Regions from separate parts of the Homo sapiens genome. Here region 1 is linked to region 2. Evidence: promoter capture Hi-C in human tissues and cell types (Jung and others, 2019). All regions are on one chromosome and are shown on one strand. The core of a region is centred on a gene start or on the middle of the fragment in contact, and the rest is flanking DNA. Distances in the headings are between cores, read along the strand shown.

What was found. The method cuts DNA at HindIII sites, captures the fragments that hold promoters and counts their contacts. A contact is called where the count stands out against the background at its distance.
Region 1: a fragment that was not itself captured here is called in contact with the fragment with the promoter of GBA2 in region 2 in 1 of the 25 tissues and cell types used here (adrenal gland).

Annotation. Positions count from the first base shown.
Region 1 is chr9:35,916,708-35,923,869 of GRCh38, reverse strand. No RefSeq gene overlaps it. Among named protein-coding and RNA genes, the nearest start is that of SPAAR, 11 kb to the right of the region's middle. RefSeq lists an enhancer at 1-599 and a silencer at 6,201-6,342. The HindIII fragment of the contact is 3,057 bases long and covers 211-3,267 here.
Region 2 is chr9:35,743,233-35,750,490 of GRCh38, reverse strand. GBA2 (glucosylceramidase beta 2) reads left to right here and starts at 1,263. Exons shown (of 17, transcript NM_020944.3): 1 at 1,263-2,145; 2 at 5,785-5,876; 3 at 6,079-6,194. The coding sequence starts at 1,787. It overlaps RGP1 (RGP1 partner of RAB6A GEF complex), which reads right to left and starts at 1,204. Exons shown (of 9, transcript NM_001080496.3): 1 at 1,083-1,204; 2 at 620-754; 3 at 112-248. The coding sequence starts at 735. RefSeq lists silencers at 915-964, 995-1,044, 1,165-1,564. The HindIII fragment of the contact is 11,811 bases long and covers 1-2,150 here.

The sequences.
Region 1 (7,162 bases), core at 490-2,989, 170 kb before region 2:
GTTTCAGTTATGAGTGATAGAAAACCACATATCAATAGTGGTTTAAATAAGACTGTTTTGCTTTGGTATAAAAGCCTGGAAGAAGGCAGTATAGGACTGATATGGGCTCCCACAGTATCAGGAACCCAGGCCCCTTTTATCTTATTGTTCCCCCAAATGGGGCTTCTACTCCCAAGGCCACTCTGGTCCAATCTGACTTCTGTAGCTCCAGCCATTATATCTACATTCTGGCCAGATAAAGGAGAAAAAACAAAGAAGAGTATTCCGCCTCTATTTAAGGACATTTCCCAGAAGTCACACACCACTTCTACTGGCCATTCCTAGTTCCAAGAGGGACTGTGTTGATGTTATTGTTGTTTTTCTAATAAGGAAAAAGAGGAAAACTGAGGTTAGGAGACAAGTAGACCCCTGTGCACAGGGTCAGACATAAAGTCAAATGATCACCGATGCAGCTCTGGTGCGGCCTCTCTGAAAAATCACCAAACTTAACACCAAATCCTAAGGACTCCATACCTCAAACCCCTTAAAATGAGATCAATGAAAATGAGCGGTGGCCAAAATTGGGACCCAGGAGAATGTATCCAGTAGGATCACGATCAGTCAAGCAAATAGGTTTTACTTGGGTTTCCTGGATTTGTGTTGTGTTTTGTTTTGCTTTGTTTGAGATGGAGTCTCCCTCTGTTGCCCAGGCTGGAGTGCAGTGGCACAATCTCGGCTCACTGCAACCTCCATCTCCCGGGTTCAAGTGATTCTCCTGCCTCAGCCTCCCGAGTAGCTGGGACTACAGGCGCGCACCACCACGCCCAGCTAATTTTTATATTTTTAGTACAGATGGGGTTTCACCATGCTGGCCAGGATGGTCTTGATCTCTTGACCTCATGATCCACCTGCCTCAGCCTCCCAAAGTGCTGGGAATACAGGCACGAGCCACCGTGCCCGGCCAGATTTGTGTTTTTATGCAGGAATTCCTTCCCAGCATTTCTCGGAAATACTGTTTTTCCAAATGCCAATTCCTGAGAAAAAGAAGTTAAGACATCTAGGAACCTGGTAAGAGTGTTTTTGTGTGAGAATTAAAGCTTAGCAATCAACATGTTGAACTAGATGTGACTAGTTCAAAGGAATCCACTGACACCAAATCAAAAGCGAGAGTAGAAAATACTGAGGCACCCATAGGAAAGTTAAGTTCTGAATGGAACTGGGGAGTAGAGGAGAGAAAAGGCCATCATCTAATCAGTCTTCCGACTGCTGTTGCCAGGGTAGAGGTGGTGGTGGGCTAGCGCTGGCTCAAGAAGAGCCAGTTGTATGCTGCTCTTCCCAGCTCTCAGTGACATCCCCTCGGTAGCTGGGCATTGACCATTGTGGGAACATTTATGCCTCCCCTCAGAATTTGGCAAACCCTACATATAAGGGTTTTTTTTTTTTTCTCCAGGAGAGTCAGTTTACCAGCACACACTGGTTATAAGTGTGTGTTTGTGACCTGGTCTGCTTCTAATGGTAAGTCATTTTTGCAAATAAAACAAATATTGGTAAGTTTGTACACATAGGATACTTATACAAGTCCTATGAGCAGTGTCGGAAAAAAATAACAAATTTTGAAAGCAAAATAAGTCTTGAAACTGGCAATTCCAACAAGTGATTCTATGAACCTTGTTAGTGAGTCTGAATGTTAGTTATTTGAACACTTCCCAGTAATGATTGCTGGCATTTCCACGTGTTGAATATTCATTATAGGCTACAGTTCTTTGTAAATACTTTAACAGAAGAGATGCAAAAAGAAGACGTGATTGCTGTTATAGAACACTCCAGAAGGAAATCAGAAATTGCTCTAAAATCTGAATTAGCAAGAGCAATATTGATCTCAATGGCAAAATCAAGACCAGAGTAAGCAGACCAAAAAGTAAAAATAAAAATAAAGCATCATTTAAAAAGGAAATGAGCTTCTATAAAACAACATGTACCCTAATGGCTAACCTGAAGATGTTAGGGGCACACTCAACCAACATCAATGAAAAATGAAAAAACAAAAAAGTTTCCTACATCTAGAATATTTGTCACAAAACAAAGATCAAAACTATCAGATAGAGCAATTAAAGCTTTGTGTTTTAAAAGTTCATTTTAAAAATAACTTTTAAAATTAAATGTTTGTGCTATTATTTTTCCATTTTTAAGTGATTTTTATCTGGCATTTATTTTGCAATAATGTTCCCTCCTTTTTAATGTTTTCTATATCCAGTGCCTATATCAGGTGGAGATAATTTTTATGTTATTGAAATAATCTTGTCACAACATATTGGTTCATAATAATAATAAACCTTAAGGAAAAAGTCTGGAACTTTTAGCATCAATTTGTCACTGACAATTATTAACTGTTTATTATTCTGGTCATTCATTATTATTTAAAAGTATGTGAATATAATGTTATAGAAAATATGAGCCAGGCGCAGTGACTCACACCTGTCATCCCAACACTTTGAAAGGCTGAAGCAGGAAGATAGCTTGAGGCCAGGAGTTCAAAACCAGCCTGGTCACATAGTAAGACTCTGTCTCTAGAAAAGAAGAAAACAAAATAGCCAGGAGCACCCTAATGGCTAACATGAAGATGTTAGGGGCACACTCTATAGGCATGTACCTATAGTCTCAGCTACTCGGGAGGCTGAGGAAGGAGGGTCACTTGAGCTCAGGAGTTCGAGGCTGCAGTGAGCTATGATCGTACCACTGTACTCCAGCCTGGGTGACAGAGTAAGATCCTGTCTCCAAAAAAAAAAAAATTTAATGTATAATTTCAGGAATGCTCATGAATTCCCAGAAATTTCAATTTCTCATTCCTGAATACTGAACAGAAGTATTCGCGGGGAATTTGGAAACATTATTCTGGAGCTTTCAAACCTTTTAAAGCAGCAGACCCCTTTTTATCAAGCAAAATCTACCTGGGAAACAGAAGATATAAAAGAGGCAAAAATGAGGCTCTGGCTGAAGGAGAGGGGATAATATGGTCCTGTGCTGAACTTTGTGACCAATTTGTTGAGTGACTTGGAGTGGGGCCTGTCACTTTTGTGTCTCTAAGTCTTGGTTCCCTCATCCGTAAACTGCGGTTAATACAGCCTGCTTTACTGGGCCCCAAGGCTTGTTATGGGAGACAACTGAGAGATGCCTGGGAAAGAGCTTTGTAAACTTAGGACACCTTGAAGGCCATTATGTGCCAGACAGATGTCAATGTCGCTATTCCGAGGCTCTGCACTGACCTCAGAGGGTTTCCAGCCTGAGGAGAGGGGACGTCCACACACTGGATACAACCCTCGTCATAGGAGCCAGATGAGCAGAGCTGGGACTGGAGCCCTGAACTCCAGTGCCTCCTCCCGGCTGCTCTCCTGGGACCATCTCTCTGCCAGTGTTTGTCTCTTTTATGGGCTGGGGCTACAGGGTGCAAAGAACACCTTGGGTTTAAAGTGCAGCCATTCTGTAAGTAGCCAGGATCAGGCTGTAAAACAGAAAATTTTATCCCTCACATAAAAATTATGGATTACGAAAAGGGGAGTGTGAGTTTTGAGGAAGTTCAAAGTTCACTGAAATGGAGGCCAGAAAGTTATATTTTAGTCTGGAAGTGCCATAAAATGTAGAGGAATATGTCAGTTCCCCTTTCAGAACTTCAGCTCTCACCTCTGTAGAAGCCAGGAGGGCTTGAATGACTCCACTTTTCCACTCAGAAGATCCACAGTGTCTCATTCCCCAGATGAGCTCACACAGAAAAAGAACTCAAGTTGGTCCATCTGTTTCCTGAGTGGCCTTGCTAAGTGGAGCTCTGGTCTCCCTCAACCCAGGGAGTCCTTTTTGCAAATAACAGCTGTTTGTCACAGAACAGGACAGTCAAGTTTGCTTTCTTAACCTGTGTTATCTTAACATTAAAAAAGTTATTATGTGTTAAAATAGGAGGCCATTGATTTGAATTAGTGTCCTTTACTGAGCCTAGCAGACCAAACCAATATGAAGCCATCACGCTTAATGAAACTAATTACTTTAGGAATATATTCTTGCAAATGGTTGAGGTTCAGTGAGTCACACAGCTGAACTTAATGAACTACAGTAGGTCAGCTGAGTTGAATAAGGTAAGACGTTTAGGTAGAACTAATCAACCAATTAAGCTGTAACCAATTAAGTTGTCTCTGTATCTCACTTCTGTTCTCTCTCTATCTACAAATGTTGCCTGATCATGGTGTTGGCCTGAGTTCTCTGAAAGTTCTCTGAACCTGTTTTGGTTCTGGGGGGCTGCCTGATTCCCAAATTGTTTTTTGTTTCTCTTTGTTTTGAATCATTTTAATTGGTCAAGTAAACTGTTGAACTTAGTTAGTCTAAGGATTTTTCCTTTTAACATTGTAATAAAAAGCAACACATGCTTGTTCAAATAAGGTGGAACAGGACAGAAGGATATGAAGTAAAACATAAGCTTCCTTCTTCCTCCAAGCCTGTCCCCCAGAGGCCATCACATCCTTCCTGACATTTTCCTAGGTTCATACAAACACATACGCATATGTGTAATTTAGGAGGTTTTTTTGTTCTTATTTTTGTTTTCTTGAGGAGGAAAAGTGTTTTTTGGTTTGTTTGTTTTTGTTTTTGTTTTATGAGACCATTCTGTAACTTGCTGTTTTTTCTCTATGTATAGAGGGCAGTTTCCAAGTCAGTACATTTTTGTAATGGCTGCCTATTATTCCATTTTTTGTGGCTGTATCATAATCTTTATGTATTTCCCAATTGATGGGTACTTGGATTTTTATAATGTTTTGCTAATAGAAACAATACTGTAAGAACAACCTTGGACGTACATGCTTGCACACTTGCGTGGGTGTTTCTGTAGGGTAAGGATAAGGATGACTGGGTTTGCACATTGCCCAACACCTGGTGCAGGGCCTGACAATTGTCACATTATCACTCTCATCCTACTTACTAGGAAATGTAATTTCTGACTCCCTTCCCTATCTCTAAGTGGTCAGCCCACCCATACTCCAGACCCAACAGCCTTCTTCAGCTGTAAGACCTGACCCCCTCAGAGGCCACCTTTCTCTGTCTCTTGGCGGCCAGGAATAGATTTAACTAGAGGAGCTAATTCAAGGCTAAGTCTTTGTGAGCACTAATGGTTGAGCTAAGAATACTTTGTTGCTATAACAACTTAGCATAAATATAGTGGCTTAAAACAACACAAATGTATTATCTTATAGTTCTGGAGATCAGAGACCAAAATAGGACTCACTAGGCTAAAATCAAAATGTTGGCAGGGCAGGCCGGGCGCGGTGGCTCACGCCTGTAATCCCAGCACTTTGGGAGGCTGAGACGGGCGGATCACAAGGTCAGGAGATCGAGACTATCCTGGCTAACACAGTGAAACCCCATCTCTACTAAAAATACAAAAAACTAGCCGGGCGGGGAGGTTGAGGCAGGAGAATGGCGTGAACCTGGGAGGCGGAGCTTGCAGTGAGCCGAGATCGCACCACTGCACTCCAGCCCGGGCGACAGAGCGAGACTCAGTCTCAAAAAAAAAAAAAAAAAAAGATGTTGGCAGGGCTATGTTCCCATCTGGAGGCAACTGGGGAGAATGCTTTTCCTTGTCTTTTCCTTTCTGGTTTCTAGAGACTCTCACACTCCTTGGCTGGTGGCCTGCTTCTGTCTTCAGGTCTTTCTTACATCACCTGCCCTGACTCCTCTGCCCTCCTCCTCCACAGTGAAGGGACATTTCTTACTGCATTGGGCCTGCCCAGATAATCTGGGATAATCTTATTTAAGGTCTACCGATTAGCAACTGTGATTTCATCTGCAATCTTAATTCCCCTTGGTGAACATAACATTTTCTCAGCTTCTAGGGATTAGGACATGGACATCTTTGAGGGATGATTATTATGCCTACCACAGATAGCGAACTCTGAAGGTGGGAACAGAGACCCACCCAATAGCCCTCTAAGGAGTTAGGTCTGTGTCCAAGAAAGAGCTCTCTGGCGGCCGGGTGGGCAGGGGTGAGGTGAGGCCAGGGAGGCCCATAAGGAGATGACATGGTGAGGTCTGCGCAAGCACAGTGACAGTGGGGATGATGGAGGACATGCATCCACCCCTTGCCTCAGGCCAGGCCCCACACCAGGGCTGTGGCTGTGCCTGTATCTCAGGAGGACAAGGACAGAGGGTCCCTGTATGAGCCACCACAGCCCTGGCTTCCTAAGTGGGGTCCGTAGGCAGCTGACAAGGCCTCAGCCTGGAAGTCGTAGGTGGTTGCCAGGAAGCTCCTCCCCAGCTGTGGACCCTGCTGTCTCCCTCCACTGCTGGGATGGGGAAGAGTTGCTTTGGCAGGCTCCTCAGTCTTGCCTGAACTGGGGAGCTGGGATTAGGAGCCTTACCCTGTCCCAGGAGGTGCAGGCTGGGTGTCGTACAGCCAGGCCTCTCACTCAGGCTAGTGAGCCCCAGGCTGCTCCCTGTACTCTCCTCAGCCCACCCAACCTGCCCAGAAGCTCCAGCAGCCACCCCAACACCCAGACTCCGGTGTTCCTGGAAACTTGGCAAACCCCTACCGCTTGCAACTCCCCAGCCTTGCCTACCTCAGCCATGTGAATTAGGCAGAAGAGAGGTGTGTGTCTGTGTGTATGTGTGTGTGTGTCCTTATCATTGTATCTGTTCTGAGAAATTCATCTGCCCCCATTTTTGTGTCTATGCCTGACTGTGTTTTTGTATCTCTTAGATTGGAGTTGGTTTGTTTTATAATTTTTAAAATAACTTTTGTTCCTTTGTTAGGTTCTTGCTCTTTCTTATTCAAGAGCAAATCATTCATTATGAGAAATTCAGATAAACACAAAGGGAAAACATTTAAAATGCACAAATAGGCAAGGCGCAGTGGCTCACGCCTGTAATCTCAGCACTTTGGGAGGCCGAGGTGGGCAGATCACCTGAGGTCAGGAGTTCAAGACCAGCCTGGCCAACATGGTTAAACCCTGTCTCTACTAAAAATACAAAATTAGCCAAGTGTGGTAGCGCCTGCCTGTAGTCCCAGCTACTTGGGAGGCTGAGGCAGGAGAATCACTTGAACCCAGGAGGCAGAGGATGCAGTGAGCCGAGATCGTGCCACTGCACTCCAGCCTGGGCAAAGAGAGCAAAGTTCTATCTCAAAAAAAAAAAAAAGTAAGTAAATAAA
Region 2 (7,258 bases), core at 14-2,513:
ATGACAGGGACTATAAGAACAAGAACAATTAACAACTTCACCCATGGGTGACAATGCCTCCACACACACCCTCCGCACCCCCCCTCTCCCAGGCAAATGCCCCTCTCTAACCTCGGTGTGGCAGAAAGACAGTCTGGCTGTCGGGCTGGACATCTGGCTGACTAGAGTCAGGAGGAGGCAGTGCTACTCGACTCTCACTGGCATGGAACTGGCAGTGGATTTGGGCACTGGCCCAGGCCAGGGCCTCACTGTGGGAAAAGGAAAAGGAGGCATCAGAGGTAGTTCCTGACCTCACAAATGCTTTCCCAAGCTCCCTATCACACCATCTTAACCAACAAGGTTAGATGGCTGTCCTAGTGATCAGGAAATCCACAATCCCAAAGAGAAACCATTAAATAAAGAGTAGCAGACTGTGCGTAAAAAGGGGAACGGGGGAGGGGAAGGAAAGCGTACAGCTATGTCATCCACATCTTCTGTTAAAGAGCCCTCTCCTACAATGACAGCACAGTGAGCAAGAGGAGGTGGTGTCGCTACAGGACAACCTGAGCTCTGCCTCAGCCCCAGAGATAATCTGGCTTCTTCCCAGAAGGGCCACCACCTTCAGTGCCAGCATCCCCACCTGGATGCAGAAGTGGCCGTGGGCGGAAGGGGGTTGGTGACGGTCACTACACACTCCAGCGCCTCCCCAGCCAAAAATACAGGACCCCGGCTGAGCTCTGCTACCACTTCAATCATGGCAGCTCCGGAATCAGATCTAGAAGGAAACAAGGCGGGGCGGAGGTCAGCACCTTGACAGGGAGGGGCGTTGCGGTGAGCACCTAGGGCTGAGGGCTGAGGACAGGGGTGGTCAGCACCGTGGTGCCCGAGGGAGCTCCTGGATATAGGAGGGGTAGGCGGGTGGGAGGGAGGCGACTGAAGACTCAGTACTGCCCAGGGGGAGGACATCGCTCTGGGCCCTAGACCCCAGCCCCTGTGCGACGGGTTCTTCTCCCTGGGCACCCCCGCGGAGTTCCCAAACTGGCCTCCGCTCCCCCTTTCCTCAAAGTTCCACGTCCCAGCCCAAGATCACCGCCGCTAGTCACCTCGCATAGTCGACACTAGGGATCGGCACCCCTAGGCCTCATCTGCCCGCCCCTCAGGGACCTGGCTAGGTACGCGGCGGCGGCGGCGGCGGCGGCGTCCGCTGGGCGGTAGAGGCGGGACTTCCCTTCGGTCCCCCACCCTCCGCGGAGTCCCTTCCGGCCGGAAGCGCCCGGCAGGCCAGACCGGAAAGGGCTCGGGTCATCCCGGCGCCCAGGGTCACCTTCCCACGGGCTGGCACCTGGGCGCGGGCGCTGCCCCGGAGCCGGCCGGCGGGACCTGGCGCCCAATCCTGGGGGACCCGGTGCCGTGGCCCAGGGGCCGGGCCGAGGTCCCGGGGGCGGTGCCTTGCGGGCCCGTCCCGGGGCGGTGCCTGGTGGGCTGGCCCCGCGGCTCCTCCCCTCTCTGCGGGCCCAGTCGCCCTTTGGCCGGGCGAGCTAATCGTCGGCTCAATGACGACGAGGCCCGACCCTTCCCGTCCAGGACCTACAGAGACAACCGAAGGAGAGCCCAAGGCGGCTTCTTTGCTGTCGCCGCCCCCACTGAAGCAAGAGCTCCCCGGCTCCACTGAAACACCAGCTCATTTAAGCTTTCCCCAACGCCCGGCCCTCCGGGACGATACCTAACAACGACCGGCGCCCGCATCTGGAATAGGCTGGCGAGATACTTAGTATCCGAGGGCTCGGGACTTGGCGCCATCGAGGTCATGGGGACCCAGGATCCAGGGAACATGGGAACCGGCGTCCCAGCCTCGGAGCAGATAAGCTGTGCCAAAGAGGATCCACAAGTTTATTGCCCTGAAGAGACTGGCGGCACCAAGGATGTGCAGGTTACAGACTGTAAGAGTCCCGAAGACAGCCGACCCCCAAAAGAGACGGACTGCTGCAATCCGGAGGACTCTGGGCAGCTGATGGTTTCCTATGAGGGTAAAGCTATGGGCTACCAGGTGCCTCCCTTTGGCTGGCGCATCTGTCTGGCTCATGAGTTTACAGAGAAGAGGAAACCCTTTCAAGCTAACAACGTCTCCCTAAGCAACATGATAAAGCATATAGGCATGGGCTTGAGGTGAGTAGACCCCATTGCCTAGAATGCCTTTGGCTTCACTTTGTTCCAGCTCAAAACTTCTAGCAGAGGTGGGAAAGGGCAAGAAAGCAGTTGGGCTTCTTGTCTGAGTGAAGCGGTCCCTATCCCTGGCATATTTTAGGCCTGTGGTTTTGGACCGTGAGACCAGGTCACATCTCTTTGCAACACCCTTCCCTCCCAGTGTTTTGTCTTTTCAGAAGGAAAGGGTAGGAACATTTGGTCATGCAATCAGCCTTTCCCATTCAGGCTCTTCTCACATACTGGTTTCCAATGACTTCCCTTTGGGATTAGCTATACTTTGTGGCAAGGTAGGAAAGGATAATCTGGCTGCTGTGATACTAACACAATGTTGTTTTATTTGGGGGTGGGGGGGTCTCAACCCCTTATTTCCCACAAGCAGCTGGGGCATTCTCTGTACCTCATTAGACACACTGTTAGAGTCCCAACACTACTGCTTCTTTCTTCAAGCTTTAGCTCCAGGGAGTAGGTAAGAAGAGCCTCCCTGCCCTCACCTCTGAAGTGATGAGAAGGTGCTGTCATTCTGTTCTGGGATAGAGAGCTCTTGATATTAAGTCATTTATCAGAGAGGCACTGCCATAGATGTAGAACCCATCTAGATCCCCACTGAGTTCAAAGACTAGTGATGAGGAGCCAGACCCATTAACAGGAACAGGTGGATGTGAGGACAGAAAGCATCACCCTGAGGTCATCCTGACTCAGTCTACACAATACACACAGAACTGTGGAGGGAGGCATAAAGCTTGGGAAACCCTGCCCTTACAGTTTCTAGAGTAGGAGACCCTTCATTTCCCCAGTCAGTGCTGTGGGGCTGTGATGGGGAGATCAGTTATCTAACCCTAGCCCTGGGGAGTGGGAAGGGCCTGATGCTGCCTGCACATCTGGCTTTGTTGGTGCCTGTGGGTAGCCTGTAGCAGAGAAGAATCATCCCTCCAGGCTGCTTCTGGAATCAATTCAGTCCAAGTTTGACCCCAAAAGTTTTTGCATCAAAATAGGATCTAGTGTACATAGAGAAGTACACTGAGTTGCATGTGGTAGGAACAATGAGATCAAGAAAAGATGGGCATCCTAGCCTCTTAGCCCTTAAATATGAACTGAGTCATAGAGGCCTGAAGCTGTGCTCAACCCCCTGGACCCTGGCTCCCCATTCCAGGATAGAGTGGGGGGTACTGATACAAGGCTTTTGGAATAGGATGAGTTCCTATGAGGAGAAAGCACAGGTGAGACAAGAATTCTAAGTGATAACTCTTGAGTTGAGGTTGAAATTGTGGAGAAGGCCAAATAGGTCAGGAATGGCCAGCTACCATATTAAGGGAGTAAGAGAGCTCCTAAGATGGAGCTGAACTGTGGGCACTCTGACCAGGAGCTCTAGCAAGACAGAATTCTCTGGGTCTTACCTTCGTAAGAACTCAATTTCAATTGTTCTCCCTTCCAGCCAGAGTCCACTCATTCAATAAATATTTATTGAGTGCTTGTTCCATGCCAGATAGTCCTTTGTTCTGTCTGTCCTCATAGATTGCAGTTACTCTCCCTGGTTGCCCTAATCCTCGGCCACACCCTCCCTCTACCAGTCCTTTCTGGTCTCTAGTTTCAAAGTCCGGTTTTCTCTAAGCTGGCAGAGAGGATTCTCTGCCTTCCTGTCATCCCATCCTTTGTCTTCCCTCTTCTTTCCACCCCTAGAATGTGCTGTCCCTTTTTATTTTATTATTATTTTTTTTTTGAGACAGTCTTGCTCTTGTCACCCAGGCTGGAGTACAATGGTGCAATCTCAGCTCAGTGCAACCTCCGTCTCCTGGGTTCAAGCGATTCTCCTGCCTCAGCCTCCTGAGTAGCTGGGATTGCAGGTGCCTGCCACCACAGCTGGCTAATGTTTTTGTATTTTTAGTAGAGACGGGGTTTCACCACATTGGCCAGGCTGGTCTTGAACTCCTGACCTCACGTGATCCGCCCACCTCGGCCTCTCAAAGTGCTGGGATTACAGGTGTGAGCCACCGTGCCTGGCCGCTGTCCCTATTCATTAATCACATTTCTTCTCCTCTGCTCCAGTCTGTTATCTCTCTTGTGCCCCATCATTTGTATGTTCATTCATCTGTAAAATTGGCAAATATGCATTGACTGCAGACCATATGTCCTACCCTGTGCTTGGACCTGAGGGTAATATTCAGCTAGTCTTTGTCATTGTCCCTTTCCCCAAGGAACTTAAAAGTATGTCAGCCTCACATGAGGAACATTGAAATAACAAGGCAATGTCTGATTAGGAATTGAGATAACAGTTTGTATATATGAGTAATAATCATACCTGTACTTTATGGCTTTCTTATCTATTATGTCATTTGATCTTTCAACCATTTCATTAGATAGCTAGAGCAGGTGGTATCCCCATTTTGTAGATGAGGAAACTGGGACTTAGGGGTTACTTACCCAATTATTTGGTTAGAAGTGGTGTGACTGAACAGTAGGCATAATGTGGCAGTAGGCAGGAGAGTGGAAATGGGAAAGAGTCTGGCAGGGCAGGGGCTACTTAGTGAGGACCCATCTGGAATGAGAATTTGTAGGAAATAAGATTAGAAGATAGGCTGGGACAGATGTCAGAGCCTTGAAAACAGAATCGTTTGCCTATTGAAAACAGCCTCAATCATTTGCCTCTTGGATATAGGGCTGTACCAAGCCCAGGAAAATGTTGGGATTTTTTGAAGGCTTTACCAAGAGCAAAATCAGAAAGCTTCACAGTTTAAATGTTGAATTTAAAAAAAAAAAAAAAAAAGGCTTGAGAGGAAATGTCCAGAAATAAATATAAACACTGATTGTCTATGGGTGAGATTATTTTTTTCCCCCTTTCACCTTTCATAATTAGAAAGAAAAATGATCATTTTAAAAAGAAGAAAGGCCAGAAGCGGTAGCTCACGCCTCTAATCCCAGCACTTTGGGAGGCCGAGGCGGGCGGATCACCTGAGGTCAGGAGTTCAAGACCAGCCTGGCTAACATGGTGAAACCCCATCTCTACTAAAAACACAAAAAAATGTGCCAGGCATGGTGGCGGGCACCTGTAATCCCAGCTACTTGGGAGGCTGAGGCAGAAGAATTTCTTGAACTTGGGAGGCGGAGTTTGCAGTGAGCCAAGACCGAGCCACTGCACTCCAGCCTGGACAACAAGGAACGAAACTCTGTCTCAAAAAAAAAATAATAAATAATAAAAATAAAGATAAGAAAGTTATTCCCAGCAGCCTATGCCTGTTTTGGAGGTAGGGGATTGGGGGCGGAGGCTGTAGGCCAGGAAACCATAAATGGTCCTTTCAGCACGTCAGACAGAAGCTCCTGATGTTGGAAATAAAGCAGTGGTGGTGGTGCTAGAGAGGTAAGGAGAGATCAGAAAGCCCCTTCTGAGGAGAACAAAGGAGAGAAACAAAGCCACTCCTTCACTTCAGCTGGGGTGACTGGGAAGATGAAGGGACCTTGAACTGTATAGAAATCAAGAGGAAGAAAGGTTTGAAAGCAGATGTCCTTGGGACATTTAATGGGAGGTCACAGAGAGAGGCAGGTGACTCAGCCTGTGAACAGCTGCCCACCTGCCCCCTTCCACTCACATTGCCTCTTGCTCCTCAGGTACCTGCAGTGGTGGTACCGGAAGACCCATGTGGAAAAGAAGACACCTTTCATCGACATGATCAATTCTGTACCCCTAAGACAGATTTATGGTGAGCCCCACCCCATCTCTGCTCTGCTCAGAGAAGGCCTAGCCTCCAGGTCTACCACAGTTAGGAAGAGACTTCCAGCTTATGCAAATTGCACTGTTCCATCCCCTAGGTTTTCAGAGGAACCAGGCTTTATAGTCTAGAAAGTTAGAAATGGGCTTATTTTCCTCTCCCAATACCCCACTAACCACCCTGATTTCTCTAGGTTGTCCCTTGGGTGGCATCGGGGGAGGCACTATTACCCGTGGCTGGAGAGGCCAGTTCTGTCGTTGGCAGCTTAACCCTGGAATGTATCAGCACCGGACAGTCATCGCTGACCAAGTAAGAGCCAGGAGGTGGAGAGGCCAGGACAATACCTCCCCAGGCCAAGAAGGAAGGACCTCTTGGCTAGTGTAGAAGGTAGCAGTTAGATGTGAATAAGATTCAATCTAATAAGTACTCTCGGGATGCTTCCTGTGTGCCCAGCCCTGAGCTAGGATATACCGTAGGAATAAGACACACACAAGCACACATTCCTTGAAAGAGTAAACAGATCTGGCATTTCTCTAGTAAATGCCTCCTGTCTACCTCACTGCCCCAACCCAACTAGCTGAGGCAGCCCCCAACCACAGAGAATGCAGAGAATTCCCAAATCACTTAACCTGCCTGAAAGAACATTTTGTAGGACTGGAAGGGAAAAGAAAACCCAAAGTCTATAAACTCATGGGAAAAAAAGACACGTAGTACAAGGTTCCTCACCCTGATTGAGGAACCTTCACCAAAGTTCAGCTCCTCTGCTGATCACTCCCCTGGAGGTCTCCTGGCTTAGGGTCTAAAAAGCTCCTTCTCTCCCAGGCTTAGATCTCTAGCCTTCTTCCCTCTTCTGAAGCTTCACTTTTTTCCTTTTGCTCCTGCATCACATCTGGGCCTTAAATTGCCAGAAGTATGTGTCCTGCCTCTCATCATCTCTCTCTAGTTGACCGCCCCTTTAGAGTTGCCTAGGAAGTTCCTCTTTCTTGGCTCCAGCATTCAGCCTCATCTTCAAAGGAAAAATGACTAGCAAATCTTTAGTCCAATTAATGACAATACCCTTCCTGGTTCACGTTTACCAGCCCTGCCCATGTCCCAAGATCCCTCTCTGCCTCATCCCTTAGGTATCCTGAGGGGAATGGCTTCCAGAATTGTGACTCTACAATTAAAGTAATTATTGCATGCTTAACATGTGCTAGACACTGTGCTAGGCTCTTTGTATACTGTTTAATATTAAAAACAATCCTACAAGGGAAGTACCACTATTATGCTCATTTTGCAGATGAGGACACTAAGATCCAGAGAGGTTTAGTAACATGCGCAAGGTCACAAGGTTGGTAAATGGAAAGGTTGGGATTCAGAACCATTTCTTTCTG